Regions from separate parts of the Homo sapiens genome. Here region 1 is linked to region 2. The links are contacts of gene promoters, found by promoter capture Hi-C in blood cells and fetal thymus (Javierre and others, 2016). All regions are on one chromosome and are shown on one strand. Each heading gives the region's core, a stretch centred on a gene start or on the middle of the fragment in contact. The rest is flanking DNA. Distances are from core to core; before and after follow the strand shown. Region 1 holds the start of DFFA (DNA fragmentation factor subunit alpha). Region 2 holds the start of MTHFR (methylenetetrahydrofolate reductase).

Region 1 (4,663 bases), core at 1,116-3,615, 1.3 Mb before region 2:
GGTACTTTTATTAGTTCTGTTTTATAGATGATGAACCCAAGGCTCAGAGAGGTTAAGTAACTTGTCTAAGATCACACAGTAAGTGGCAAAGCTGGGATTTAAACCCACAAAGTCTGGCTCCTGAAAGTATGTTTACTCCAGCTACTCCACACTCATGTATGGTAGGCATTTGAGTTTTTACTGGAGTGAACAACCAATCAAAGTCTAGTTTGATTCCTTGCAAACAAGCAGTCTCTCATTCATTTATTCAGTTTTCCTCTTTTTTTTTTTTTTTTTTTTGAGACGGAGTCTCACTCTGTCGCCCAGGCTGGAGTGCCCAGGCGCTATCTGGGCTCACTGCAAGCTCCGCCCCCCGGGTTCACGCCATTCTCCTGCTTCAGCCTCCGGAGTAGCTGGGATTACAGGCGCCCACCACCACGCCCGGCTAATTTTTTTGTATTTTTAGTAGAGACGGGGTTTCACCGTGTTAGCCAGGATGGTCTCGATCTCCTGACCTCGTGATCCGCCCACCTCGGCCTCCCAAAGTGCTGGGATTACAGGTGTGAGCCACCGGACCCGGCCCTCAGGTGTCCTCTTAAATTCTCCTATGTGTAAAAATGTCAAAAAATACACCAAAAAGGCCAGGCACGGTGGCTCACGTCTGTAATCCCAGCACTTTGGGAGGCCGAGGCGGGTGGATCACAAAGCAGGCAATCGAGACCATCCTGGCTAACATGGTGAAAAACCGTCTCTGCTAAAAAATACAAAAAATTAGATGGGCGTGGTGGTGGGCGCCTGTAGTCCCAGCTACTCGGGAGGCTGAAGCAGGAGAATGGAGTGAACCCGGGAGGCGGAGCTTGCAGTGAGCCGAGATAGCGCCACTGCACTCCAGCCTGGGTGACAGAGTGACACTCCGTCTCAAAAAAAAAAAAAAAAAAAGAAAATGCTTTTTGTTCTTTACAGTATCTTCCTTAGCAGCTTCTTTTCTAACCTATGGGAAAGTATAAAAGAAGTGGAAGCTTCTATCAGTAGCTTTTCATATCATTATCATTGGCGGAGAGGCTTTCTCCAGGACAGGTCTGTACTATTCCATTTAGTGATAGCAATGCTTCAAATACTAACGGGACTGGAGTGATCAGAAATAGCCAAGAGACTACAAATATCCTTCAGCGGTGTTGTCTACCACCCAATAGAACAGCAAGGCATGTATGCGCTGGACTGCAGAGAACACCAGCCTCTGTGCCACGCACATCCAGCCACGGCACTGAAGGGGAATTAGAAGTAAAGTAATCTAATGTCAGGAAAAAAAATACATAAATGCTTATATGCAAAATCCATGTTACCAAAGCATTTATAATGCTTTGGCTGTTCATGGGTCTCTGAAAATTTCCATATGATTTCTGTTGGTGACTGAGAGGAAGCAACTGTGCCCTCTGACACACACTGTGACTACATGCCTGGGGCTGGCTCACACATGTAACCTGTAAAACTTCTTTGGGTAAGCGATTTGTTGCTACTGGCTAATAAGACTTGTAAGTCACTTAAATATATCATCTTATTTGAGAGAACCAACAACCCTTTGAAGCAGGGCTATAAATATTATACCCAATTTGCTGATGAGAAAACTGAGGGTTGAGAGCTGGTTAAGTGCAAGGCCAAGCAGCTGGTAAAGGTATGGGGCCGGGCTCGGAACTTCCGTCGGCTCCGTCACTTACAACTCACGTTCCTTGTCTGGACCTCCAGAAATGGTCAGTAGCAGCTCCCTCTTTCCTGCATAGGTTCCTGCCAGAGCGGACGGTGGAAACCCCTCCCCACACCGCCGTGGGCTCAGCTGGGGGTTCTTGTACCATCTGAGTGTGGCGGAGTGGCAGGAACCCAGTGGGGTCCGTTTGGTCCAACATCGAAGTGATTTCAGGCAAGAGACCTAAGCCGAGTCTGGCTTAATTTGCACATTGCTTCCTGGCTGTCTTCCCACCACCGTGGAGTCTCACACGAGATTAATTACGCTCAAGCGCCTTAAATCTGTAAATCGCTATGCCCACTCGGACCGTTTCTGTCCCAAGCCTCCACCCGAGATACAAGAATCCCCAAGTCGCCTCTCCTGACCCCGCCTCGCCCCCGCCGGACGTCCTCACCCGGCCCTGGCTCCCCCACACCCTCGCCCGGGGTCCCGAGCCAACCCTTGCTCCTCAGGTCTTCGAGGCAGGAGGCGGCCACGCCGTGCTGTTCGCGGCTGTAGTTGCGGCGCAGCAGACACGGCTTTAGAGTCCGGATCTCGCCAGATTCTGGTACCCCGGCGTCCCCGGTCACCTCCATCCTCCACAAGGTGGGACCTGCCCACCTTCGAGAAGTCGCGGGAGGCCGGAGCGGCGGTCCTTCTACTCGACCCCCTTCCGCAGCCTGCCGGGAGATGTAGTTCGTTCCGCAGCAAATCACACGTGAGACCAGGGCACGCCGGGAAATGTAGTTCTAGTTGCCGCTAATCACGTGTGGCGTCGAAGCATGCCGGAAACTGTAGTCTCTGGGTTTAAAGCCGCTTTCGTTCTATCGCGCGATTCAGCCTAGGAGTTGTTTTTAACTTTTAGGAGCTGCATTCGCGCGTTCAAATATAAGGCCAATAGAGACTTATTTTGCATGACGATGCACACGCATGTATACTGTATTGAATTTTTAGAGCATTCCTATTCGCATATGAGATGCATAATGCTAATACAGACACCCGCATGTTTCCACCCATTCTATTTCCTGCTTCAACTGTGCAAATTAGTTTGGGGTCTCAGAACAAAACGCTTAAATAAATATAGTAAGCATTAAAGTCTCAAATGCATCGGAGAGGAAAGGGGAAATGCGACTCGGCACTGTTGGAGATTGTTCAGATGCCTCTTGACAACATATTCATCTTTGTTTTAATACTGCTACTATGGAAAAGTTTGTTTTTTTCCTCCTGAAAAATAAACATCTAAGATTAAAAGAATAGTAATAAAAATGATCAAAAAGTTCCTCTCTTAAAAGAGGGCATTTTATGTAAACTAGAAGTAATTATCTGCTCATATTTATTCATTCGGGGGACACTTTCCTTCCTTGTTTCTTTTTTCTTTTTTTGAGACAGCGTTTCGCTCTGTCTCCCAGGCTGGAGTGCAGTGGCGCGATGATGGCTCACTGCAGTTTTGATCTCCTGGGCTCAAGCAATCCTCCCACCTCATATTTTGTTTATAAAAACGTGGGCAAGGGCCCCGGGGGCGGTGGCTCACCCCTGTAATCTCAGCACTTTAGGAGGCCGAGGCGGACAGATGATCTGAGGTCAGTAGTTTGAGACCAGCCTGGCCAGCATGGTGAAACCCTATCTCTACTAAAAATACAAAAATTAGCCGGGCGTGATGGCGCACGCCTGTAGTCCCAGCTCTTGGGAGGCTGAGGCAGGTGAATCGCTTGAACCCGGGAGGCGGAGGTTGCAGTCGGCCCAGATCGCACCATTGCACTCCAGCCTGGGCGTCAGGAGCAAGACTTCGTCTCAAGCAAAAACAAAAACAAAAGCAAAAACAAACAAAAAAAACGTGGGAGAGGAAATTGGATATTATCTCAAGAAAAGTTTAGACATTTAAAACAGCGTTTAGTAGGAGGAATTATTCATTAAGTCATCCCTTTTAAGCAGTCTATATTGATCAAAACACAACTATAATAGGAGCTGGCGGTTAACTCTAATGTATGTATCCTTTTTCATATAATTTCATTTTTTATTTTCTTATCTTATTTTTAGACAAGGTCTCGCTCTGTCGCCCAGGCTGGAGTGCAGTGGCATAATCATAGTTCACTGCAGCCTCAACCTCCTGGGCTCAAGGGATCCTCCTGCCTTGGCCTCCTAAAGTGTTGGGATTACAGGTGTGAGCCACTGCTCCCGTCCAATATTTAATTTAAAATCTAACAATTAAAAAAATCTAACAATTCAACCAGTGTAAAATAATGACGTTTTGTAGAAGCCTCTTCTCTTCAAAATGCCCCCTTTTATGTTCTCCCAATAGACCTGCACACTTATCCGAGTCCTATCCCCATAATACTGTAATTGTAAGTGTGTTTGGCCTGGGCGTGGGAGTAGGGATTGAGTCTTGAATGTTTTTATTTCAAGGCCTACCAAAGTCCCTAGCATATAGTAGGCACTCAATGAATGGAACTGAACTGATGTCTAAAAATTAATTTCCAAGTTTCTTCGCATTCATCCATTGGCAAGTCCCTAAATGTGCCCATGGCACTGTGGGGATGGGCAGAGATTAACTCAATAAGAATAATATGGGCCGGGCGCTGTGGCTCACTTCTGTAATCCCAACACTTTGGGAGGCCGAGGCGGGCAGATCACCTGAGGTCGGGAGTTCGAGAGCAGCCTGACCAACATGGAGAAACTCCATCTCTACTAAAAATACAATGTTAGCCGGGCATGGTGGCGCATGCCTGCAATCCCAGCTACTCGGGAGGCTGAGGCAGGAGAATCACTTGAAACCGGGAGGCTGAGGTTGCGGTGAGCCGATATCGCGCCATTGCACTCCAGCCTAGGCAACAAGTGCGAAACTCCGTCTCAAAAAAAAAAAGCAAAACCAGAATAATACACATATAACAACGCAAAGAAGATATAGACTTGGGATCTTCCTGGAAAGCAGAGTCTTAACGGAAACTATGCAAGGTGACCCGGACA
Region 2 (4,294 bases), core at 1,375-3,874:
CCAGGCTCCTTGCATGCAAGGCAGCCCCCACCCGGCACTGCAACATGCTCCTCGGTGACAGCTACCTGATGGAAGGTGGCACAGAGGACCTCACGCTGCCGACCTGCGAGGCCCATATTCCTAGCGAGGGGCAGTAGTGCCCAGCTGGGAGGACCCTGGCTTTTCGATGGTCCATCTCTGTCAGCTCAGGCCCAGAGTGCGTGGGGAGGGAACAGAGGCACCTTCCCCAGCGGGTGTGTTCAACTGGGCGGAGCTGCGACAAAGGAAGAGGCTTGAGCTCCAGCCAGCACAAGGGGGCGGGGGCAAGGCTTCCAGGCGAGGAGGGAGGGCTGAGGCTCTAGTAAGGGGAGGCGGATGGAAGGAGGGGGACTCAGGGGCAGAGACTGCAGGGGTTGGTGGAGATGAGGCCAACAGGCGTTCAGGGATACCAGATCACCCTCCAGAGAAGGAACAGCTCACTCTGGCTGGCTCTGCCTGGAACATCTGTTACTTGAAACAGTTCGTGCACAGGATGGAAGGGGTGAGGGCTTGACTATGCAGCCAGATTTCTCCTGAATTCATGCTACTCCAAAAAGACCGTGTTGTGGGTTAGAACTTGATGCTGGCCATGTTCCAAAAATAGCCAGACCCAAGTTCAGTAAGGGCACGAATTTCTCAGAACAAAAGCTGCCCCATCTGTGCTTGCCTTGCAGGCTGCTCTTCTTACACATCACAGAATTCAATTCAAATCATCACAGTGACCCAGCTACTGGGAAGGCTGAGGCAGAAGGATTGCCTGAGCCCAGGAGTTCAAGGCCAGCCTGGGCAACATAGCGAGACTCCATCTCTTAAAAAAACAAAAAACACACCTGTAATCCCAGCACTTTGGGAGGCCGAGGTGGGTGGATCACCTGAGGCCAGGAGTTTGAGACCAGCCTGGCCAACATGGTGAAATCCCGACTCTACTAAAAATATAAAAATTAGCCAGGTTTGGTGGCGGGCGCCTGTAATCCCAGCTACTCTGGAGGCTGAGGCAGGAGAATCGCTTGAACCCGGAAGGCAGAGGTTGCAGTGAACCAAGATTGTGCCATAGCACTCCAGCCTGGGCGACAAAAGCAAAACTCCATCTCAAAAAAAAAAACAAAAACAAAAAACAGAAACAAGTAATCAGAGCCACCAGGGCACAGACAGGCCAACAGAGGGCATAGGGTCATCTGGCAGTCTGGTTAAGAAAATAAGACAAACACTTAAAAACAAACAAAACACTTGCACAGCAATGGGCAAACACACAGTAGTGAATGGGTGTGTGGTGACATGGCACAACAGAGGAAAGCCCAGGTGAGGTTCATTTCTTTCAGACTGTCCACCACTAACCCTGTGTACCTAACCATTTGGGGTCTTAGACTCTTTTGACAATCTGATTAAATGCACTGCTCCCTTCCCCTGAAATACACACACAGGTGCACAGACTACACGGGGATACATCCAAAGACAAGGAGTTGATTCCAGACTAAGAACCCTGGGCCAAAGCTTTCTCCCTCTAGGGCTGCTCTCTTTCATTCTGACCTCAAACTCCAGATTCTCAGTGGGGATGGCTGTGGGGAGTGAGGAACGGGGGCGGGGGGGAGGAGTAACAGCAAGAGCAGCCAGTTGGCTTTCCTCCAGCGTTTAAGGGCGCACCTCGTTAATTGCTTGCTGGAACAGAACCTAGAGTAGGAGGAAGCTGAACCACCTGTAAACCCTCTGATTTTCAAAGACTTATTGCATTCCTAGTATATGCCACGCATGTGCCATATTTGTAAGCCAACTCCCACGATTTATCCGTTATCAGCTGGACTCCCATAGCACCCTGGGTTGTAACTGTGGGTGAAAAGGCCTGTCTCCTTTCTCTTTCCCCAGTTCCCTGAGACAGGACCGGTGTCCTGCCTGGGGTATCCCCAGAGTTTGGCACACGGTGATAGCCAACATTCACTGAGCGCCAAAGGGCCAGGTGCTGCCACTCTCTCAAAATAAGCCTCTGCCACTTACTGAACAACTAGTCTGCGCCAAGCACTGGGATACTAAGCCTACGACTCCCAGAAAGGTCCCGGCGGACCCCCGTGCGCAGCGGGACGCAGTGGGCGCCAGGGACCGCAGTGCCCCGGGCCCAGCGCTCTTCTCCAGGTGATCGCCGGGGAGGCAGGTTTAAAAGGCAGGAGCCGGAAGCCGTCTCGGCGCCCAGGTGGCCGAGAATCCAGTCACCAGGTCACTGAGTCACCGATGGGGGCGAGGACACGGGCCTGGGCCGGTCAGAGGGGCGGGATCGTCACCCCTGGCTCAGGGGCCCCTCCGTCCAGGCAGGGAGCCAAAGTCAGTCTTCGCTTGAGGGTTGGCGGTCGCTGGAAGTGGTAGCCATTGGGAGTTACACTAATCCCGCGAAGGGTGCGCAAGGGAGGCGGCAGCCCCCCCCAAGAAGAGAGGCAGGCCGGCCTCCAGCGCTCCCCGCCCACAAGCACGTCCTTGCCCCCGGGAGGTTGTTTGCCGGCTCCAGGATCTCCCTCCCGGCGACCCCGGCCTCGCCGTCACTCACCCTCCAGTCCCGGGTGACTCAGAACGCTCGGCCGCCGGCCGCACCACTGTGGCCGCTGCAGGGGCGGGGAACGCAGTGAAGGGGCGCGGCGCAGGTGTCAGGTTGCTGGAGAGGCGGGCCTACAGGGCGGAAACCACCGGCGCGGGTGACCGGAAGCCCCGCCCCCAACATGGCCGTGCCCACAGGTCTCGTTGGAGGCCGTGCCTTTATCGTCATGTGACGCGAGTCCTCGCCCCACCCGTCTGCAGCCACTCCTGGTCTCAGTCCCAGAGCTCGAGAGGGCCACGTGACCGTCCCGGGGCCAGTCACGTGAGGCGCAGATCCTGGCTGGGAGGGGGTTGGTAGAGGGGTCCAGAGTGGCAGTAAAGGAGGAAGATGGCGGGGTGCAGGGGGTCTCTGTGCTGCTGCTGCAGGTGGTGCTGCTGCTGCGGTGAGCGTGAGACCCGCACCCCCGAGGAGCTGGTAAGAAGCCGGCGGAGTCGGCCTGGGGAGGGGGCGGTTGCTAAGGGACTGAGAGAGGCGTTGCCGGGGGTGGGGCCGGGCCAATCTGGGCCCGCAGGTGGCAGCGGGTGGGGCCTGGGGACCGCAGCCAGGGCTCTCGAAGCGTCTACCCTGCTTCACGTGCCTAAGTCTGGGGTCTTTTCTCATAACCCCTCCTGGAATCTGAGGGAGAATCCAGGCCAGCTCCAGTAAATCCCACCCATGTTTCCTTTTATTTCCATCTGAAAAGAGTTTGGAATGAAACAAGCGTTTTCAGAATGAGCTTCCTCACAGGACTTTGTGCTTATCATGCTGCTGTTTTAGCTTCTCCAGTCCTTTCTCACTCTATCCCTCACCCTTTCTGGGTCACTGACAGTCCAGCTTCCCCCTGCAAAGCATCCTGGGAAAACTTGAGTTGTGTTCCCAGAGTTGACAAGTCCTTTCTGATTTCAGATACGTCACACTGTCAAATGGAACCTGCATTTTTACCCCCCTTTTCAGCTGGCGTTGGACATCTTTGAGGTGTCCTGAAGAGGAGGGTGGTTATTTGGAGACTATCAGTGGAAATGAAGAGCTCAGCTGATGGCTGTAGATCCTCACCCACATGGTCCCTCACCCCTGAAAGGTTTTTTTTGAGGGCTGGTTCCTATTTGATAATGGCTCCAGATGATTTAGAAGCTAGCCACTGATTTCAGTAAATACTTCTGCCTCCTTCCACTCCTAACCACTAAAAAAGGCTCCCTCTGCGGATCTGTTTTTCTAGACCATCCTTGGAGAAACACAGGAGGAGGAGGATGAGATTCTTCCAAGGAAAGACTATGAGGTGAGCTCCTTTGATACTGCTTGGGCAACTAAAGTAGTGAGTGGCCTGGTCACTTCAGGCCGAAGCATTATGATTCCAACCAGAGATGCTCTTTGACCTTCTGTCCCAGGGAGTGAGTGGGTAAGAGAACTTCCTTCTAGGAAAGAGACTGTTTAGCAAGCCCTTTTCTCACCTTAACCCCAAAACAAGGTCTGGTGTTTTTACACGTTTATAAATCTGTGGCACCTTAACCTGGATAGAGTATGTATTTGCCATTAAACTGTTTGCTTTTACAGCTTACAGAGAGACTTAGAGTGAAAGGCACTGGCAGGCAGTATGTGCCCCTAACAGGTGTGTGCTTATAAACTGTTAAGGAGGCCTTGCTTCTCTTCTAGGAGAGCTTGCTTTTCAGATATTTTCTTGCTCAAGCAGCTTCTCTCTGACATGTTCTTGATTAAGTTCCA

What was found. The method cuts DNA at HindIII sites, captures the fragments that hold promoters and counts their contacts. A CHiCAGO score of 5 or more calls a contact.
Region 1: the fragment with the promoter of DFFA here is called in contact with the fragment with the promoter of MTHFR in region 2 in 1 of 17 cell types (total CD8 T cells); the score reaches 6.8 in total CD8 T cells.

Annotation. Positions count from the first base shown.
Region 1 is chr1:10,470,164-10,474,826 of GRCh38, forward strand. It overlaps DFFA (DNA fragmentation factor subunit alpha), which reads right to left and starts at 2,366. Exons shown (of 6, transcript NM_004401.3): 1 at 2,160-2,366. The coding sequence starts at 2,295. RefSeq lists enhancers at 1,835-1,934, 3,896-4,663. The HindIII fragment of the contact is 4,411 bases long and covers 997-4,663 here.
Region 2 is chr1:11,803,340-11,807,633 of GRCh38, forward strand. MTHFR (methylenetetrahydrofolate reductase) reads right to left here and starts at 2,625. Exons shown (of 12, transcript NM_005957.5): 1 at 2,549-2,625. It overlaps CLCN6 (chloride voltage-gated channel 6), which reads left to right and starts at 2,852. Exons shown (of 23, transcript NM_001286.5): 1 at 2,852-3,010; 2 at 3,792-3,851. The coding sequence starts at 2,924. RefSeq lists enhancers at 1-304, 2,497-3,482, 2,680-2,789, 2,800-2,879, 3,330-3,399 and 3 more and silencers at 2,310-2,359, 2,380-2,429, 3,100-3,149. The HindIII fragment of the contact is 7,586 bases long and covers 1,508-4,294 here.